Regions from separate parts of the Homo sapiens genome. Here region 2 is linked to region 1. The links are contacts of gene promoters, found by promoter capture Hi-C in human tissues and cell types (Jung and others, 2019). All regions are on one chromosome and are shown on one strand. The core of a region is centred on a gene start or on the middle of the fragment in contact, and the rest is flanking DNA. Distances in the headings are between cores, read along the strand shown. Region 1 holds the start of PDGFB (platelet derived growth factor subunit B). Region 2 has its middle 10 kb from the start of TNRC6B-DT.

What was found. Contacts are between HindIII fragments. The study calls those that stand out against the background at their distance.
Region 2: a contact is called between a fragment that was not itself captured here and the fragment with the promoter of PDGFB in region 1, in 1 of the 25 tissues and cell types used here (lymphoblastoid cells).

The regions. Positions count from the first base shown.
Region 1 is chr22:39,243,732-39,248,837 of GRCh38, forward strand. It overlaps PDGFB (platelet derived growth factor subunit B), which reads right to left and starts at 1,251. Exons shown (of 7, transcript NM_002608.4): 1 at 170-1,251. The coding sequence starts at 232. The HindIII fragment of the contact is 11,810 bases long and covers 1-5,106 here.
Region 2 is chr22:40,052,126-40,057,347 of GRCh38, forward strand. It overlaps a transcript of TNRC6B not described here. Among named protein-coding and RNA genes, the nearest start is that of TNRC6B-DT, 10 kb to the left of the region's middle. The HindIII fragment of the contact is 4,520 bases long and covers 1,582-5,222 here.

The DNA of each region.
Region 1 (5,106 bases), core at 1-2,500:
CTGTCACCCCCGGACCTCGCTCCCAGCCCGAAGAGGTCACCCAGCGCCCGGCGTCAGGCTCGCGGGCTGCAAGGGTCCAAAGTTCACTGCAGGGAGAGGAGGGGGCGGTCAGAAGGGGGGGGCGAAGGTAATGAATGAAGAACCAGCCCCAGCCGCCGTGGCAACTCACCTCGGCGCTGACCAGACGCAGGTAGCAGCAGAGAGACAGGAAGAGCGCCCAGCAGCGATTCATGCCGACTCCGGGCCCGGCCCCGCGGGGCCCCGGACGCGTAGATCGAGCGCGCCGCCCCCGCGGCCAGGGTGGGGGGCTGGGGAGGGGGGTGGGCTCGGCTCGGGTCCGCGGCGATCAGGCGCTCAGGCCTCTGCAGCCGCGGCTCACCCGCATGGCCCCCGGGCGCCGCCGCCCCCGGCCCCGGCTCCGTCGCTGGGGGGCAGGGGAGGACCTGGGCGCAGGACCTGGGTCCGAGGCCGCTACCTGGGCGGATCCCGAGCCCGAGTGAGCATCCACGGCCGGGGGGCTGCGTCGCGAACCAGCCGAGGCGTCTAGCCGTGTGGGGGCGCCCAGGGGACTCCAACCTCCAAGAGGAAAAGGAACACGGCAGTCGATGGTTCGTCTTCACTCGCCGGCTACAGGCGTTTTCCTCTGCCCGCCGGCTTAGCTTTTTTGCAACATTTTCTGGAAAGGCCCCCAAAATCGGAAAGCGCGGAGCTGGGCACCTCAAGGCCCAAGTCTCCCCCAAAAAACTTTTTCCAAAGTTGGCTTTGCAACGGCAGCTCGAGCACCCGGGCAGGGAGAGGTGCAAACTCCCGCCCGGGCCGGGTAGGGGGGCGGGAGCGTGTGCGCCCTGGCGCGGGGCCCGGGCGGCGGGCACGGCTGCTCCGCGCGCGCGGCGTGCCCGCTGCGCGCTCGGCTGGGCCCGGCCGACAGGTGGACGCGGCGCGAGTCCGTCGGTCCGTCTGCCCGCCCGCTCGCCGCTCTGGGCGTCCTCTGCGGGCTGCGGGCTGCGAGCTGCGAGCTGCGAGCTGCGGCTGCTCCGGTTTTCTCTTTGCAGCGAGGCTGGAGGGTGGGCTTTTTTTTTTTTTTTTCCTTTTTGCGCGCGTATGTATGTGTGTGCGCGCAAAGTATCTCTATCTAGGGAATGAAAAATGGGCGCTGGCGGCCGGAGGGGAGCCCTAGGGAGGCAGCGGGGGAGGCTGCGGGTGCGCAGGGAGGCAGGCAGGCCGCTCCCGGCTGCAGGAGGAGAAGTTGCCACCCTTTCAGCTGTTCCGGCCTTTATAAAGGAGAAGGGAGAGTGCGAGAGGTGGGTGGAGACAGCCTTTCCTCTTCTGGCCCGGAGTCAGCGCCAGGAGGGGGGGGACGCGGGAGCTGGGGGAGGGCTTGGGGCCAGGGCGGGGCGCTTAGGGGGTCTCTGAGAGCCGAGCAACCCTTCAGTCCATGAATCTGGCCCTGGGGAAAAAAGAACTAGGGGTGACCCACCGTCCCGCCCCTCAGCACAGTGACCATGGACAGGTTAGGAGCCCACGTGGTCTAGGGGGATGTCTCCAGAGCCAAGGCCAGGAGTCCACGCTCCCCTCCAGGACCAGACATTTCCACCCTGGCACAGGCATGGCAGGGAGGGACTCAGGCTCTGCAGTCTGAGAGCCTGAATTCAGATCCTGCCCTGGCACTCGGGAGCTTGGGTCACCTTGGGCAAGTCACTTCCCTCTGTCCCCTCCATCTAGCCTCAACCTGGAGATGGGGCTATTGTAAGGACTCAGTGTTAGCAAGGGAAGACACCGCAAGGTGAACCCACAGAACCCGGCAGCCAGCGCCCTTCAGCTGCAAGCTGGGTCCGAGTCTCCTCCTCCTAGCTGGTTGCCTGGCACAACAGGCCCTGCCAGCGTTGGCTGAATTTGAATTTGTTGAACTGCAAAGTCACACAAACCCCCACAGCCCTGCAGCATCTTCGCAGGGCTACCAACATGATCTTCCCGTCAGTCACCCTGCTGTTTACTATCTCCCTCAGCCCCCGGGTTCGAGGCCCAGAGCCCACCCACCCACAACCAGCCTTCACACAGTTAACGCCTTCTGCCCCCAGTCAGGGAGCTGCTGTGTCCCTGCCTTCAGCAGTCACACTGTCTCAGTCACAGTCACACGTACTCACACTGGGCCCAGCACCCCCCTCGGGACACGCAGGCTCCTGCATCACCCAGCCTCCCGGCTTTGAGGCACCCTCATCTCCTCCGCTTGCACTGTCTCTGTTATCCGCCCTTCCCTTTGGGATGTCAGCCTGCTTCTCACAGAGGAGCACACTGAGAGAGTCACACCTGCTCTCTCTTCATAGACTGTCTTCTTGGACCTGGACAGGGTGGAACAGAGGAGGAAGGACATCTCAGGTGGTCTTTACAGACCACTGCAGGCACCCACCCACTGCTGCCTACCACCCAGCAGCGTGGCACAGTGGCAGAGACACAGCCTGAAGACACATCACCTTGGTCCAAATCCTGGAGTGGCCACTTGCTGGACAAGTGTCTGCAGGAAGGTTTTTTAACCTCTCAGTACCTCGGTTTCCTCCTTTATAAACTGGAGATGAATTTATAAACTGGAGCTGGGTGTGGTAACAAGCTCCTGTAGTCCCAGCTACTCAGGAGACTGTGGATCGTTTTGAGCCCAGGAGTTTGAGGCTGCAGTGAGTTGTGACTGTGCCACTGCACTCCAGCCTGGGCAACAGAGCAAGACCCTATCTCTAAAGAAATAAAAATAAATCTATAATGGGAAGGAGTGAGAGAGAACAGAGAGGCATGGCAAAATTTTAGTGGTGATGGAAATGTTTGTCATTTTTGATTGTGGTGATGGGCTTATGGGTGTATACGTACATCACAACAAAATGTGTGCAGTTTGTTGTACCTCAGTGCAGTTGTAGAGAATTTTTACCCTGCTCCTGGAGTGGTCTGGAGGCTCCCATGAGGTCCTCCATGTGGAGGCGCTCAGCAAAACACCTTAGCAGGAAGCAAGCGCCTGGAACCTTCCATGCAGCCTTCAAGTTCACTGGTGGCCCCGCACTGCTCCAGGCACTGGGGAGACAGGTGTGAACCAGCCTAATGCAGGCCCCTGCCTTTGAAGAGCCCCATTGAGAAGGACAACCAGATGTATAAACAGATAAATTAGGAGACAGGGTGACAAGGGAGATGGGGCAGCGGGACGAGGAGATAACCCCCAAACACTAGATTTGAAGTCTAACGACTCAGAGATAAAAACCCTCTTCCACCGGACAGCTGGGTCATTTGACCTTGACCTTCTGTGTCTTCTATAAATAGAATGGTAACAACTACCATGATTAGTGAGCTGACTATGTGGTAGCTAGTGTTTTTCTTACTCTACCTGTAGCCTCTCCATGCTCCTGTGAGATGTGTTATTCCTATCTTACAGATGGGGAAATGGAAGCACAGAGAGGCCAATACACTTGTTCAAGGTCACACAGCCCGTAAGTGGTAAGGCCAGGACTTGAATCTGAGCAGTCCAGCTACAGAGCCCACATGCTGAGACCACCGTGCTGTGCAATTTTCTGGCAGGTGATGCTGATGACAATGATGACACTTTTGACACAGCGCTTTGGTGAGCGCCACATGCATTAATATGTGGGAACCTGCTCTGCCAGCTAAAAAGTGATGGACCCATATGAACTCTGACTTAGGTACAAGTTGAGGGAGAGGGAAGGCTACTCAGAGCAGCATCGTAGAACGCCTACTGTTTGCAGACCCTGTGTGAAGCGCTGAGAAATGGAATGAGGAAGGAGTCCCAGCCTCGGCACTCAGGGACTTCCCATGCTCTCAGTGAGATAGACCCAAATCATTGCAGTGCAGGTGCCAGTACATGGGTTAGAAGTGGCAGAAGAGGGCCCAGCAGACACCTGGGCCTGAATGCTACGTGACACCTGCGTGACACCTGGGCCTGAATGTTGTGCTAAGGGCTCCTTTCTTGTACCTTCTCTGTGCAGAGGAACAGTCTGTAAAGAACACCTCCCCAGGCACGGTGGCTCACCCCTGTATTCCCAGCAATTTGGGAGGCTGAGGCCAGAGGATCATGTGCAGCCAGGAGTTCGAGACCAGCCTCAGCAACATAGCGAGATCCCATCTCTTAAAAAAAATTACCAAAAAAAAAAAAAAAAAAAAAAAAAAATATATATATATATATATATATATATATATATATATATATATATATATATCTGAGTGTGGCCCCAGCTACTCAGGAGGCTGAGTCAGGAGGGAGAATCCCCTGAGCCCAGGAGTTCAAGACTGCAGTGAGCCATCTCAGAGACGGGGTCTCGGTCTGTCGCCGAGGCTGGAGTGCCGTGGTGCGATCTCTTCTCACTGCAACCTCTGCCTCCCAGGTTCAAGCGATTCTCCTGCCTCAGCCTCCCGAGTAGCTGAGACCACAGGCGCCTGCCACCATGCCCAGCTAATTTTTGTATTTTTAGTAGAGACGGTTTCACCATGTTGACCAGGGTGCTCTCGATCTCCTGACCTCAAGTGATCTGCCCCACTCAGCCTCCCGAAGTGCTGGGATTACAGGCATGAACCACCACACCCAGCCTAAAAATTTTTTTTTAATAACACCTGATCGTCTGCCTCCTGCCAGGCTGGGTGTAGCAGGCACCTCCTCCAGAAGGCCCACCAGGCTTGGCACTTGTTCCAGGCTCCACAGCATGCACACCTGGCATCGTCATGGCCTGATCATCAATCTAGCACTAGACTGAGTCCAGAGTGTTCAAGGGCCTCCTGCCAGCTCCTAGCATACAGTGGCTGCTCAGGAAGTGCCGCTCGCTGAAGGAATGAATAAATGATTAAAATCCTGCCAATTTCTCTTTCTGAGTCCTGACCAGTTATTGCAGAGATGCCAGGCCCTTCCTAAAGGGTGGAAAGAGTTGGGGAGGGGCTTGTAGCATGAGCCTCTAAGCTTGGAAGCACAGGGCCCCTGAAGGGCACCCCTTCTGGAGGTATCAGAACTGGGAAGGGTCTGAAGCCACACCACCCTGAATGCACGTGGTCTCATCTGACCTCGGAACTTCATCAGGGCTGGGTCTGAGGAGCACTTGAATGAGAGAACTGGGAAGGCCCCCGCCC
Region 2 (5,222 bases), core at 2,592-5,091, 810 kb after region 1:
TGTGCCAACCTTCCTTGCCAAGAAACACAAGGGGACCCCAAGATCAAAGGGGGACCCTAAGATTAAAATTTAAGTTCTCGTCATATTCTCTGAAAACTTTTAACAATTTTTTTGGTGTCATTGTTTTTTTCATATAGTGATTACTTACGGTCTTTACCAATTTGCGTTATAATCAGAGGTAATATTACAATATTTAACAACAGATAAAGCATGAACCAATAAGAATCGGTGTCTGATGAATTAGAATTGATGGCAGCTGTACACAGCCTCAGTGTTCTCATTTGTGTGTACCTGCTTAATAGCAACGCTGTGTATTGTATTTTTTTTTTTTTTTTTTTTTTTTTTTGTTGAGGCAGGGTCTTACTCTGTCACCCAGGCCGGAGTGCAGTGGCATAAACATGGCTCATTGCAACCTCCATCTCCTGGGCTCAAGCAGTCCTCCCACCTCAGCCTCCTGAACAGCTGGAACTACAGACACGCACCTCCACACCTGGCTCATGTTTTGTAGAGATGAGGTCTCACTATGTTGCCCAGGCTGGTCTGGATCTCCCAGGCTCAAGCAATCTGCCTGCCTTAGCCTCCCAAAGTGCTGGGATTACAGGCGTGAGCCACCATGTCTGGCCTGTGTATTGTTGACTTCCCCATAGGACTGAGTTTCTTGAAGGCAGGCATTTATCTTACCCGCTTTGTATCCCTAGAACAGTTTCTGACCAGTTGTGTAGTAGTAGGCAGTGTGTAAATGTTTTAAATAAATGAACAAATGTTACCTTCTATTCTCTTTTATTCTTTTTATGTGCTATGCTTTGTCTTTCTAGTTAGAAACTGAAATGTAAGTCCTTTGAGTACAGAGATCATGAATTACGAAGGTGTATATGGTATATTTGCTTGGTTGTCTTCATGGGAGCATTTCACCATCCTCTGAATGTCGATTTGTGCTTTCTTTTTCCCCCAAACCACCTTATTGAGGTATGACTGACATACTAAAAGCTTTAGGTATTTAACATATACCACTCGATGTGTTTGGAGATTTTCTTTAAAAAAAAAAAAAAAAAACTATGTTTAGATATTGTTATGGATTTTCAGGTTGGGTCATTAATGAAGTTTGACAGTTTTAATAAGACTGACTTTCTTTGTGGTTTATAAACAGGCTCCGAAAGCAGCTTCAAAAGTAGAGCTCCAAAATAGTTCCATAATTATTGTAATTAATGCAAGTCTTCCAGAATTCGGGCAGAGTTGGAGAGTCTCTGAATTAGGAGTCAAAAGTCCTGGATTCATTTGTATTGCTGACATTTGCTTGAGTGCATACTGGGTGCCAAGCGCAGGAATGACTGAAAATTCAAAAACTACAGTATGGAAAAAAAAATACCCCTTTAACACACAGGTGAAATGGTTAATTCTTCCTAGGAAGATTGAATTTCTCTCTGTTCTCTTAGACTTTACTCATTTCTGACATAGACTACATTATATCATGTTTCTTAATCTGTCTCTCCTGCTGGATTGCAAATTTCTTAAGTGAGACTATTGTAGTCATCTTTGCATCCCTAGGCACATACTGTACTGTGTCTGTCATATCGTAGACACTCAAATGTTTGTTAAATAAATAACTTGAAGTAAGTTACTTAGCTTTGCAGAGTCTTAGTTTTTTCTTTTGCAAGTAGGAACTTCTCTACTTCAGAGAATTGTTGAAACTGTAGTGAGAATAATCTTTTAAAACTACAGATGTGTTCTGTGTATATCTTAATTTAAAACATTTACTTAAAAAGCAAGTGTAAATCTGATCATATTTCTCCCCTACTTAAAACTGTTAATAACTGGGTGCACAGGCTCGTGCCTGTAATCCCAGCACTTTGGGAAGCTGAGGTGGGTGAATATCTTGAGCTCAGGAGGTCAAGACCAGCCTGGGCAACATAGCAAAACCCTGTCTCTGCAAAAAATACAAAAATTAGCTGGGCGTGGTGGTGCCTGCCTGTAGTCCCAGCTACTCAGGAGGCTGAGGTGGGAGGCTAGCTTGAGCCTGGAGGCAGAGGTTGCAGTCAGCCGAGATTGCGCCACCACACTCCAGTGTGGGTGACAGAGTGAGACCCTGTCTCAAAAACAAAACTGTCAGTGAGGCCTAAAGACCCTGATAAGAACCTGAATTCTTGTTCTTGCCTTTTTCACTGACTGCCCAGTGAAGCTTCTGCCAGCGTCCCCTGCCTCTTTTCCTACTGTCTTCCCCCTTGCTGAGTGTACTCTCACCATACTGACCCTCTTCAAGTTCCGGAAATGTGTGTTCTTCACTACCCAAGGTCCCTTCCTTGAGCATACTATTCTCACAGCTGGAAGCCCGCAGGCCCAACCTTAGTTAATGCCTCTTCAATCCTGAGCTCAGTGTGTGTGTCTCCTCTTTAATGACTTCCTAATCACCCCGCCCCACATTAGAAGATATCAATTGTATAATTATTTAATTTGTATATTATATTTCCCCTTCTGGAAAATAGCTACATGAATAAAAATACTCTGTTTTATTCACATTTGTGTCACCAACATCTAGCACTGTGAGTTGCACATAGTAGGTCCTCAATAAATATTTTTTCAAATGAAGTTAAGAAAGAGAATTTAAAATAGAATTTCTAAAAAACCTCATTTTAGGCAAAGCTTGGTGGCTCATGCATGTAATGCCAGCACTTTGGGAGGCCAAGGCAGGCAGGTCACTTGAGTCCAGGAGTTCGAGACCAGCCTGGGTGACATGGTGAAACCCATCTCTACAAAAAAAAAAAAAATTAGCTGGTTGTAGTAGTGCGCGCCAGTAGTCCCAGCTACTCGGGAGGCTGATACAGGAAGGTTGCTTGAGCCCGGGAGGCAGAGGTTGCAGTGAGCTGAGATTGCACCATTAAGCTCCAGCCTGGGTGACAGAACAAGACTCCGTCTCCAAAAAAAGAAAAGAAATTATGCTTGGGCTTGACATGATGACGCTCTCACTAAACATTTGAATGCATAGACATGCTGAATGCTGTGCTAGGAGCCAGGACTACAGAGGTGGGGCGAAAGGAGATCTTTGTTCCCAAGGAATGCACAGCCAGGTGGGTGAGACAGATGTGGACACAGATGAGTGCCATTTAGTGTAATAAGTGCTGTAATAGACAGTACAAGAGGTGCTGCGGGGATGAAAAGGAAGGTCATCAACACGATGGGGAGGTTGAGAAAGCCTTCCCAGGGAAGGTGACACTCACACTAAGTTGTGGAGGAAAAGGGCATTTCCGGCAGAGAGAACAGCCTGTGTAGAGGCATGGGGGAGCGTTTTTAGTATGTGGAGAAGATGACCGGCACAGCGGTATGCTTTACAAGGCTGGCATTAGGGTACAGGGCTAATAGCTGACTTACAGTTGAACCATGATATGTCAGACTCAGCCTCTTACTCCACTGCAGTTTAGGACAGGAAATGACCTTAGAATAATGATCTGAATCTGTATGTTTGAATTCATAAAGGCATAGAGTACCATTCAGAGAAGATAATCATAAACCACAACGGCACTTGTCACTTCTAGTTAATATACTTGCTTCAGTGGTGTACCTATAACCATGCAAATGATGTTAGGTGGAATTAGAAAGTGGTGACTCATTTAAGCTTATCTGTAGGAGCAGAGAGTGTAAAGGAAGTGACTTCTAGATCACCTGAGGTGAGTGCTGATACCATCTCAAATGGATCAGACACTGAACCAGTGAAAGAGAGGAAATCAGAAAAGAGGACTACCCAGAAGGGCCTCTGGTATATGTTCTGGGAAAGACAGTTCCTACAGCTTGAAGGTCTTTACATATCTCCAAGTCTCCAAGTGGTTCACTGAGCTAACATTAATCTAATTTAATTCTCAACCAGATTTGAAAAAGGGAGATTAATTGGATAAAAATGTAGCCCATTTTCCTTCATTTACTCCTATTTGTTTTCAATGTCTCTTTCCTTTTCTGTCTCCTCCTATCCATTTTTCTCTCCCTGTTACTCTTAAGTAGTGTCTCCTTTCCCCATCCACCCCATCTCTAGCCATCTTCCATTCTATTTCCGCTAAGTTGCTTTCAGTTGCAGGATGTCCATACCTTGTTGGCTAAACTAATGTTTCTCAGCTTTGCATATTCAGAGCTTGATATTTTTCAAATGGGAAGAAGTGATTATGCTCTGGTAGTGCTGATTACACTCACAAGATGTTAATTGACTTACGGTAATGCCGATTTCTGCAAGTTCTGTGTATGTATTTGATCTACATAACAAAGGGCTAAGGAGCTAAGTGATGATAGGGAGAATGGTAGTAATGAATGCAGTTTAGTTTAAGATGTTTGGAAGAGAAAGGACAGAGAAAAATGGAAGCAGGACGAGGTTGAGAAGGCAACACCTTTAAGTAAGATAGAAAATCAGGCTGGGTGCAGTGGCTCATGCCTGTAATCCCAGCACTTTGGGAAGCCAGAGTAAGAGGATCACTTGAGGCCAGGAGTTCGAGACCAGCTTGAGCAACATAGTGAGACCCCCATCTCTACAAAAAATGTTTTAAACATCAACTGAGCATGATGGCACATGCCTGTAGTCCTAGCTACTCAAAAGGCTGAGGCAGGAGGATTGCATGAGCCCAGGAGTTGGAGGCTGCGGTGAGCTAGGATTGCATCACTACACTCCAGCCTGAGAGACAGAGTGACACCCTGTCTCAAAAAAAAAAAAAAAAAGAAAGAAAAATCTATAATCTATTAAAAGATATACAGGAAGCACCCAGCGGAGAAAGAAAAATGGAAGTTGCTTGAATAGAGATGGTAGCAGATTTGATGGGGCAAGGCCACCAGATTCCTCCCATGGGCACAGGTAGACTATATTCATTGGAAGTTCCTTGTAGTATCTCAACAGAGTAAGAAGTCGTCATGGGTTCTCATCTTGGATACCTTGAGCTCAAAATGAGTTTATGCTACTTTGTTTTGTCATGGCACCCACTAGAATGGTTTGCACATAGTAGGTGTAAACAGTCGAGATAAAGTCACAGGATTGAAAGATGATACTGATTATACCTTTAAACTTCTTACCAGGTAACACTATCTGTGGTTTATGACAAGGGAACATGTTTATTAATCCTCTTGTGAATAGTACAGTTACATTGAATTTTTTTCCTAAAGGTGTTGATTTATTAAATGTGTACATTGAAAATATGCCAGGTTTTTTTTTTTTTTTTTTGAGACAGAGTTTCGCTCTTGTTGCCCAGGCTGGAGTA